Regions from separate parts of the Homo sapiens genome. Here region 1 is linked to region 2. The links are contacts of gene promoters, found by promoter capture Hi-C in blood cells and fetal thymus (Javierre and others, 2016). All regions are on one chromosome and are shown on one strand. The core of a region is centred on a gene start or on the middle of the fragment in contact, and the rest is flanking DNA. Distances in the headings are between cores, read along the strand shown. Region 1 overlaps CEACAM20 (CEA cell adhesion molecule 20). Region 2 holds the start of ZNF224 (zinc finger protein 224).

The links. Contacts are between HindIII fragments. The CHiCAGO score rates a contact against its expected background, and 5 or more counts as called.
Region 1: a fragment that was not itself captured here is called in contact with the fragment with the promoter of ZNF224 in region 2 in 1 of 17 cell types (monocytes); the score reaches 5.1 in monocytes.

What each region holds. Positions count from the first base shown.
Region 1 is chr19:44,503,259-44,508,101 of GRCh38, forward strand. CEACAM20 (CEA cell adhesion molecule 20) reads right to left here. Exons shown (of 12, transcript NM_001102597.3): 12 at 2,901-2,956. The coding sequence ends at 2,903. Among named protein-coding and RNA genes, the nearest start is that of ZNF180, 5.2 kb to the left of the region's middle. The HindIII fragment of the contact is 5,114 bases long and covers 1-3,950 here.
Region 2 is chr19:44,091,284-44,095,722 of GRCh38, forward strand. ZNF224 (zinc finger protein 224) reads left to right here and starts at 3,078. Exons shown (of 6, transcript NM_001321645.3): 1 at 3,078-3,247. RefSeq lists an enhancer at 2,888-2,997. The HindIII fragment of the contact is 10,144 bases long and covers 1-4,439 here.

The DNA of each region.
Region 1 (4,843 bases), core at 144-2,643, 410 kb after region 2:
CAATTTTCAGAAAATAAAGCGTTAGTACTATGTAATGTAAAACTGACTTTGTTTATCTGTCTTTTGTTTAGTCTTTTTTATTTTCTTTCACAATGAACAAGGTGGTAATGTTTACTTCCAGGAACCTATAAATCCTGACTTAACCTGAATATTACAGGGACTTTAGAAGAGTTACCACTGCTGGGCGCAGTGGCTCACGCCTGTAATCCCCACACTTTGGGAAGCCGGAGCAGGAGGATCACTTGAGCCCAGGAGTTTGAGACCAGCCTGGGCAACATGGTGAAACCCCGTCTCTACAAAAAATACAAAAATTAGCTGGGCCTGGTGGCACAAGCTGTAGTCCCAGCTACTCAGGAGGCTGAGGCAGGAAGGATTGCCTGAGCCCAGGAAGCAGAGGTTGCAGTGAACCAAGATTATGCTACTACACTCCAGCCTCAGCGACAGAGCCAGACCCTGTCTCAAAATAAATAAATGAATAAATAAAAATTTTAAAGAGTTACCACTCAGGAACATTCTAGAAAGATGCCTATCTAATCTAGAGATTTATCTGTCAACTGTCGGGAAGAGCTGAGACCAAAGTTTATATTAAGATTCTGTTTATTGGCCATGAATTGGATAAGGGCTCAAGATACAGTGAAGAGCAAGAAGATTATGAATCCATTTACTATAAATACTAGAAAACAAAGTAAGAGTAACGAGAGGGTAAAAGGGCATGATCTGTCTCTAGGATGTCAGGGGGAGGGGGACATTTCTTGGCAGGGAAGAGGAAAGTTCTCAGGGTTCAAATAGGGTGGTGTTTCTGGTACTACTGAGTGCAACCCTTAAGATCCTAATTCCGGTCTCTTGTATCACATCTAATGATTAATTTTTAAAATCTGAATTAATGTTATCATCATTATGATAGCCATTCAGCTCCAAGGATAGCAACAACGCATTCTGAAAACTCTTCATTTCCAGGAGTTTTCAGTGTTGGTTTCCCCCTGTGTTAACAGTCCTTTTTTGTCTCCTTTGCTTGATCTCTCCTGTAAACATCAGAGGAACCCAGGAATCAGCTGTCAGCCTGTCCCTTGCCTTGTCTTCATCCACTCTGCTTGGGGTTGACATAACAGGCCTATTGCTCAAACTCTGTAAGTTCCCCAGAAGGTCCTGTTTTCCTGACTAGCCTTTGGGCAGCTCTGGGAACTGAGCTCTCATAATGTTCTATCTGGTAAGAGTGCTTTTGTTTGCCTGAGGCCTTGAGCCATGCTGTACCACTTTGTCCAGATGGTTTATACTAACAGTGTAATTTATGGAGGAACATCTGCTTTCCTTCTAGGAGTCTGGAGCTTCAGTGACTGACCCTTTATAAAAACCATGGACACCCAGGTTTAGGTGAGCTTCCCTCGATGGCAATGCTTCACACACGTTGTCACACATCATTGCTGGGGGATTTCCCATGTGCTGTGGTTTGGATATTTGTCTCCTCCAAAACTCATGTTGAAACTTAATCCCCAGTGTGGCAATATTGAGAGGTGGGGGTTTTTAAGAGGTGATTGGCTCATGAGGGTTTTGCCTTCATGAATGGATTAATCCATTCATGGACTAATGGATTAACGGGTTATCATGGGAGTGGAACTGGTAGCTTCATAAGAAAAGAAAGAGAAACATGAGCTAACATGTTACCACACTCAGTCCCCTTGGCATGTGATTCCCTGCACCACTTCAGGACTCCACAGAGAGTCCCCACCAGCAAGAAGTGCTCTCACCAGATGCAACCCCTAGACCTTAGACTTCTAAGCCTCCATAACTGTAAGAAATAAATTTCCTTTTTAAAACAAATTACCCAGATTTAGATATTCTGTTATAGGCCAAAGAAAGCAGACTAATACACCATGTGACTCCACTGAAAGAGAACACTTGGAAGCTGGTGCAGGGTATCCTCCAGACTTCACCCCATGCACCTTTTCCCTTTGCTAATTTTATTCTCCATCCTTTTGCTGTAATAAACTATAACCATGAGTATAACAATTGGGTCCTATGAATTCCTCTAGAAAATCTTTGAGCATGAGGTGGTCTTGGGGACCCCCCTGACAGAGGAGCTCATCCAGCCCCATAACTTTAAGTCCCACTGACAACTCTCAAATGTGTATCTCCAGCCATGATCTGTCTAGATTTTTATGAACAATTGCCTACTTGATTCTGCAACTGATTCTTGACATGTCTAAATTCTTGACATGAAGCAAATTCTTTATTTCTCTCCTTATCCCAAAGTTTCTCAGAAAGTGACCTGCCAATCATCCAGTTGCCCTGGCAAGAAACCATGGAGATATCCTTGTCTCCTAACTCTCTTTACCTTCAGCAAATCTCATTCTGACTCTCTCCGCCCCTGCAGTTCTCAGGATTCTAAGCATTTCATGCCTACCTCTCCTCAGGAGCCTCAATCCCTCACTTCACTACGTGTTTTCTCCTTTTATTAAGAGCTCTTAATTTCTTAAGAGCTCCTTGTTCCTTATCTTCTATCATGATTTGAAAAGCCACTTCTTCTCTGACACCTGTCTTTGTCCCCTACTCCTCTCTGGCTGACTCAGACTCACTCTTCTCTCTGGAGTCCACCAACAGTGTTTGCTCATCCTCAGCCTGCAACTATGATATCCTAAGCTGTTCAGTCTCAAACCTTGGTCCTCTAACTCTAGATCCACGGGCTGTCATTTTTACCCTTACTATTGCTTTGAAAAAAAATATGAGTCAAAATCTAAGATTCTATGGAAGCCAGGGCCTGACCAACCCATTGCAGTAGAACATCACAAGGTCTACAGAGATGACAGAGAATGACTGGCTTATAATATGCACTTAATAAATGTCATTAAATATATGATCAAGCATGGTTTCTCTAGGACTCCTGGAGAAAAGATCTCTGCTTCCATTAGACGGAGGGGTTGATTTGGATGTAAGTGTTGGGCTCTGGATTCACAAGCTCCTGTTAAACAAAGAGAAAATGTGAGCTCCATTTGCTAGGTGGACCCTCCCAGTCTACTCACTGTAGTCTGGGGCCCAAACAGCCTGGAGCTTTCCTTTCTTTGGAAATTCCAAAAATCTTCCTCCATTCTCATCACACTTTAGTAACCCTGGCACATCTCTGTTCCTGGAATGGCCCATGTACTTCCCCACTGTGGTAAACAGACTCTAAAGTGGTCCCCATAATCCCTGCCTCCTGGTATTCATTCCTTTATGTAATCTCCTCCCCTTGAGGGCAAGACCTGTGACTTGCATCTAACCAATAGAATATGGCAAAGGTGGCAGGATATACATGATTGCATGTATGTGATTCTGTTACATAAGATTATGACTTCTGTCTTGGCTTGAAGAAGCAAGATGCAATGTTGTGAGCTGCCTGTGGAGAGGGCCACATGGCAAAGAACTGAGGATGACCTCCAGCTGACAGTAAGAAACTGAGGCCCTCATTATGACAGCCTGCAAGGAACTGAATGCTGCTAATGACCACATGAGCTTGGAAGTGGATCCATCCCCAGCTGAGCCTCAGATGAGACCTGGGCTTTGACTGGCACCTTGATTATACAGCCTTGCAGAAGAGCTAACTAAGCAATGCCTGAACTCCTGACCCACAGAAACTGTGAGATAATGAATTCATGTTGTTTTAAGCTGCAAAGTCTGTGGTAATTCATTATACAGCAACTGATAACTCTACACCCTCTTCAGGGCCTTTTTTACTGATGCCTCTCAAGTTGGAATGTTTCCTTTCATACTGTTTGCATGGTTTGCTCCTTCTAATCCCTCCAGAATGTAGCAGACACTGAGTTCACTGAGTTGACTGACCTAACCTTCTTCCCCACACCACCTCCCTTGCTTGCTTCTATTGAAGAGGCTGGGAATGTTAATGTACCACTTTCTCAGCCTCTGTTGCTACAAGGAGCACCATATGACCTTATTCTGGCTAATGAGATATAAGAGGAAGCTTACTAGGTGGTATTTCTGGGAAGACCTTTTGCCCGACTAATAATAGGAAACAAACATGGCTCCCCTACGCAGACACTGGTGAAGAGAGGGACTTAGGTGGCTAAGTTTTTACCAGTTCAAAGCTGATTAGAGAGCTGACAAAACTAAACATGATCCATACCATGGCCTGAATCAATCTGATTCTTCTATGGAGAATTTGAACCTAGAAATGCTTAAAGGGCAGCAGAAGATGTTGTTATATATACTCTGAAGTTATAGAGAAGCAATGACCAGGACATTTACATAGAAATTCAATCTGGATTGAGAAGAATGAGATGAATTCATAGATTAGTGAAAATGAGAAACTGTATAATAAGAGAGAAACAGCTTCTTGATAGCATTCAAGTCGCCAAGAGGCCCAGGAGTAATTTCTGAAATTGAGTTATCTGATATTTCTCAGTGTTCTCTCAATTAATCCCCATTCGAACTACATTCAAAGGGTTTAACTTTCTTAACATTAAAAATTCTTGACTAAGATATTAATATATGAAACATTCAGCCAGGTGCAGTGGCTTGCGTCTGTAATCCCAATACTCTGGGAGGCCAAGGTGGGATGATCGCTTGAGCCCAGGAATCTGAGGCTGCAGTTGGCCATGATCGCACTACTGCACACAACCTGGGTGAAAGAGCAATACGTTGTCTCAAAAAACTAAAAAGGTGTATAGGATATTCACATTTTTCAAGAATAGTTATCTGTCTGTTAGGCTAAAATCTACCCTTCTTTTACCTATCCTCCATGGTAATTTATGTGCCCTCTGGAACAACAAGGAACACATTTATCCCTCTACTTGAAGCCTGTCAGACACTAAAATATTGGAGTTCTCTGTCCCTAAACTTTCTCTTTTCCAAA
Region 2 (4,439 bases), core at 1,828-4,327:
ATAATGAAGTTAGATCCGCACTTCACACTATACTTAAAAATTAACTCAAAATGATCAATGACCTAAATATAAGAGGTTAAGCTATACAACTCTTAGAATAAAACATAAAGGTTAATCTTCAAGACTTTTTATTTGGAATGGATTCTTAGATAAGACACCATATGCACAAGCTAAAAAAACCCCACATAAATTGGACTAGAGCAAAAAAAAAAATGCTATGCATACAGAGACATTGTCAAGAGCATGAATTCTTCTAGTATCAGAATATATAAAGAACTCTTAGACCAGGTGAGGTGGCTCTCACCTATAATCCCAGCACTTTGGAAGGCTGAGATGGGTGGATCACTTGAGCCCAGGAGTTTGAGGCCTGCCTGGGCAACATGGCGAAAACCATGTCTCTACAAGAAACAAACAAACAAACAAAAAACAACAACAAAAAACAAAGGTAGCCAGGCATAGTGACCCATGCCTGTGGTCCCAGCTACTCAGGAGGCTGAGGCAGAAGGATTGTTTGAGCCTGGGAGGTCAAGGCTGCAGTGGGGCGTGATGTACCATTGCACTCCAGCCTGGGCAACAAAGAGAGACTCTGTTTCTTAAAAAGAAAAGAAAGAAAGAACTCTTACAACTCAATAACAAGAGGAGAAACCACCCAATTTTCTAATGGGCAAAGATACAAATAGAAATTTCAGATATACAAGTTACCAACAATTATGTGAAAAGATGCTCAACTATTAGTCATTAGGAAAATGCAAATCAAACCAATAATGAGATGCCATTTTACAACAGCTATGTTAGCTATCATCTTTAAAAATAGAAAATAGCCGATGTGGTGGCAGGCACCTGCAGTCCCAGCTACTTGGGAGGCTGAAGTAGGAGGATCGCTTGAGCCCAGGAGTTTTGAGGTGTAGTGAGCTATGCCCACTGGGTGTCCACACTAAGTCGACATCAACATGGTGATCTCCCAGGAGCAGAGGACTACCAGGTTGCCTCAGGAGAGGTAAACTGGCCCAGGGTGGAAACACAGCAGGTCAGAACTCCCATGCTGATCAGTAGTGAGATGTTGTCTGTGAATAGCCACTGCAATTCTGCCTGCACAACGCAGGGAGACCCCGTTTTCAATTTATACACACACACATATACATATACATATATATTTTATACATACATATATACAAAATAAGTATTGGAGAGGATGTGGAGAAATTACTACCCTCACACACTGAAGGTGGGAATGTAAAAATGGTGCAGTTGCTGTGGAAAATTGTTTCGTGGTTCCCAACATAGAATTACCATATGAATCACTAAATTTCATATCTAGGTATATACCCCAAAGAATTGAAAGTAGGTGATGAAACAAATACTTGTACACCACTGTTTGTAGCAACACTATTGACTACAGCCAAAAGGTGGAAAGAACCCAAATGTCCCTCAATCAATGAATGGATAAACAAATTGTGGCGCAAGCCTGTAATCCCAGCACTTTGGGAGGCTGAGGTGGGCGGATCACCTGAGGTAAGGAGTTCGAGACCAGCCTGACTAACCTGGTGAAACCCTGTCTCTACTAAATACAAAAAAATTAGCTGGGTGTGGTGGCGCATGGCTGTAATGCCAGCTACTTGGGAGGCTGAGGCAGAAGAATCGTTTTAACCCAGGAGGCGGGGGTTGCAGTGAGCTGAGATCGTGCCATTGCACTCCAGCCTGGGCATCAAGAGGGAAACCCCACCTCAAAACAAAACAAGACAAAGCAAACAAAAAAAACAAATCGTAGTAGAAACATAAAATATTATGAAGTACTGGTACATGCTGTGATGTGGATGAACTTTAAAAGCAGTATGCTGGCAGGGCGCGGTGGCTCACGCCTGTAATCCCAGCACTTTGGGAGGCCGAGGCGGGAGGATCACGAGGTCAAGAGATCGAGACCATCCTGGCTAACACGGTGAAACCCCGTCTCTACTAAAAATACAGAAAAATTAGCCAGGCGTGGTGGCACGCGCCTGTAGTCCCAGCTACTCGGGAGGCTGAGACAGGAGAATCGCTTGAACCCGGGAGGCGGAGGTTGCAGTGAGCTAAGATCGTGCCACTGCACTCCAGCCTGGCACTTTTTTTGAGATTCCGTCTCAAAAAAAAAAAAAAGAAGCAGGATGCTAAGTGAAAGGTGTCAGAAACAAAAGGTTCCATAATGTATAATTCCATTTATATGAAATGTCCACAATAGGTAATTCAATAGGACAGAGATTAGTGTTAGACAGTGACTGCTTAGTGGGTATGGGGTTTTTGGGGTGATGAAAATGTTTCCTAACTTTTTATTTGTACTACATATATCCTAAAATGGTGAATTTCACGTTTTGTGCATTACACCTCAATAGAGATGTTTTAAATAATAAAATACATTAAAATGTTTTGCATAGATAAAACAATAAAAAAAAACGTTTTTGTTGAGAAAATATTTGCGAGATAAAATGTTAATATCATGAATATAAGAACAGTGCTTGAAAAGTGAGGGATAAAACCAAAAACTCAATAAGAAAGTGGGCAAAACATCTGGACAATTTACAAAAAATGTAATAATGACACCTGAAAATATGCAAGAATATGCCATCTTTACAAGAGTTATAAATTAAAACTACATGCCATTTCTTACCACTGGCAAAACTTATTTGAAGAGTGTATCATCTCGCTTGTTCCCTTTCCAGTAACACTCCTGTCCTCACTAGAGGGGTTTAGACTTCAGGAATTCCTTTCTATACGGTATTTTCTCTTAGGCACCCAGGGAGAGGGAAGGACGACTCTCAGGGTAGAAGTCCACATTTCCCAACAGGCGCTCGGGGGTACGAGATTCGTTCCCCGTGGGAAGAGTGGTCAAGGGCTTCCCAGTAGTCGTCAACACTTCCCTTTGAGTGTAATGCTGCAGGAGTACAGTCCAGACCCTCAGTGGAATCGCGGTCGGTTTAGCTCCGGCAGTTGGGTCCCAGGGAATTCTGGGAAGTGTAGTCCAGACGCTCAGTGGAGTCGCGGTCAGTTTGGCTCCGGCTGGCGGGTCCCGGGGAATTCTGGGAAGTGGAGTCCAAACATTCGGTGGAGTCGCGGACACTTCCGCTCGGGGACTGAGGTTGCTGCAGTTTTTCCGCGATAGTTTGGGGCAGTTCCGCGCGTTGCAGGCCCTTCTGAATTTCCTGGACCTACGCATTGGATCCTCAAAGAACTGGTGATCGAATTAGGGGAAAAGGGGCCTCGTCGGAGAGTAGAGGTTTGGAGGGGCAAGGGCCGCTGTTTGCGTTCTCGTCCGTGGCACCTTCTTGGGCTTGGGTCTGTCCTCGCTTCCCGGGGGCATTGGTACTTGGTTGGGTCGCGTCTCACCTGGTTTCAGGGTTTCCGGGGCTCTGAGCTCGCCCACTCCGCCCCCTGCACCCCACGCGCGTGGCCACTTCTTCTCGATATAACGTTGGGGTGTTAATCTCCTTGGGTTTCCCGTTACTGTTCTTTAAAATGGGGACTTTAGGGCCATCCTAATGGAATCGTTTTGGGAACTGGAAGAGGTAACACAAATGAGAGCCTTAAAGCAGTCCCTGTCACTTGGTGACTGGTGGTCTCTTGTTAATTTCCCACGAAGGACCGGGTGGGGTCAGAGCTCCAGCTGCAGGGGCCTCGGCCCTTCTCCCTGATCCCTGCAGGACGCTGGATGATCCCGGAAGCCTTCTGACCTCTTTTTAGGAGAGCGAGGGTTGCGTCCACTTTCATGAAGGGAAAGGAGCATTTAACTTTTATGGGGGACGGCGACGCGGTCAAGGTGTTTCACAGCTTTCTCGTTCCCCAACCCGACCTTTCCAGAAGAGCTGCAGGGAGGGACTTCTTGGCTTCTGAGGGCAAAGCTCTACGTGAGTGGTCCTTGGCTCTTTGACCGAGATGCTCACCCCAACCGAGAGTGTATAGGTTGTGTCCTCGGGCATGGGGGTCGATAATAATTAAGTCTTAATTAGTAACTTCATTCTAAGGGCTTTATACAAATAAATTTACGCCACACCGTGGCTCTGTGGAGAAGTATTGCTTTTTTCTATTTTAAAAACGAAAGTGAGACACAGAGCGCATAGGCACCCGACTAGTGAGAGGTGGAGCTGGGGTTGGAACCTAAGCAGTCTGGGTCAGAGCCTGATTTGATCTTCTCTTGGGATACGTTGTCACTGAGGCAGAGGAACTAGTTGGACTTAGGTGGGGAAAGCAAGACTTAGGGGCTTGAAATTTTCTGAGTTTCTAAAAATGTTGTCAACTATTTTGTTTCAATCATTACAAATATTTTGTATTCTTATAGAACCATGTCATTGTACAGCATTCTATTTTTCTTTATTAAGAACAAAATGGGCCTGGCGCGGTGGCTTACGCCTGTAATCCCAGCACTTTGGGAGGTCCAGGCGGGCGGATCACGAGGTCAGGAGTTCGAGACC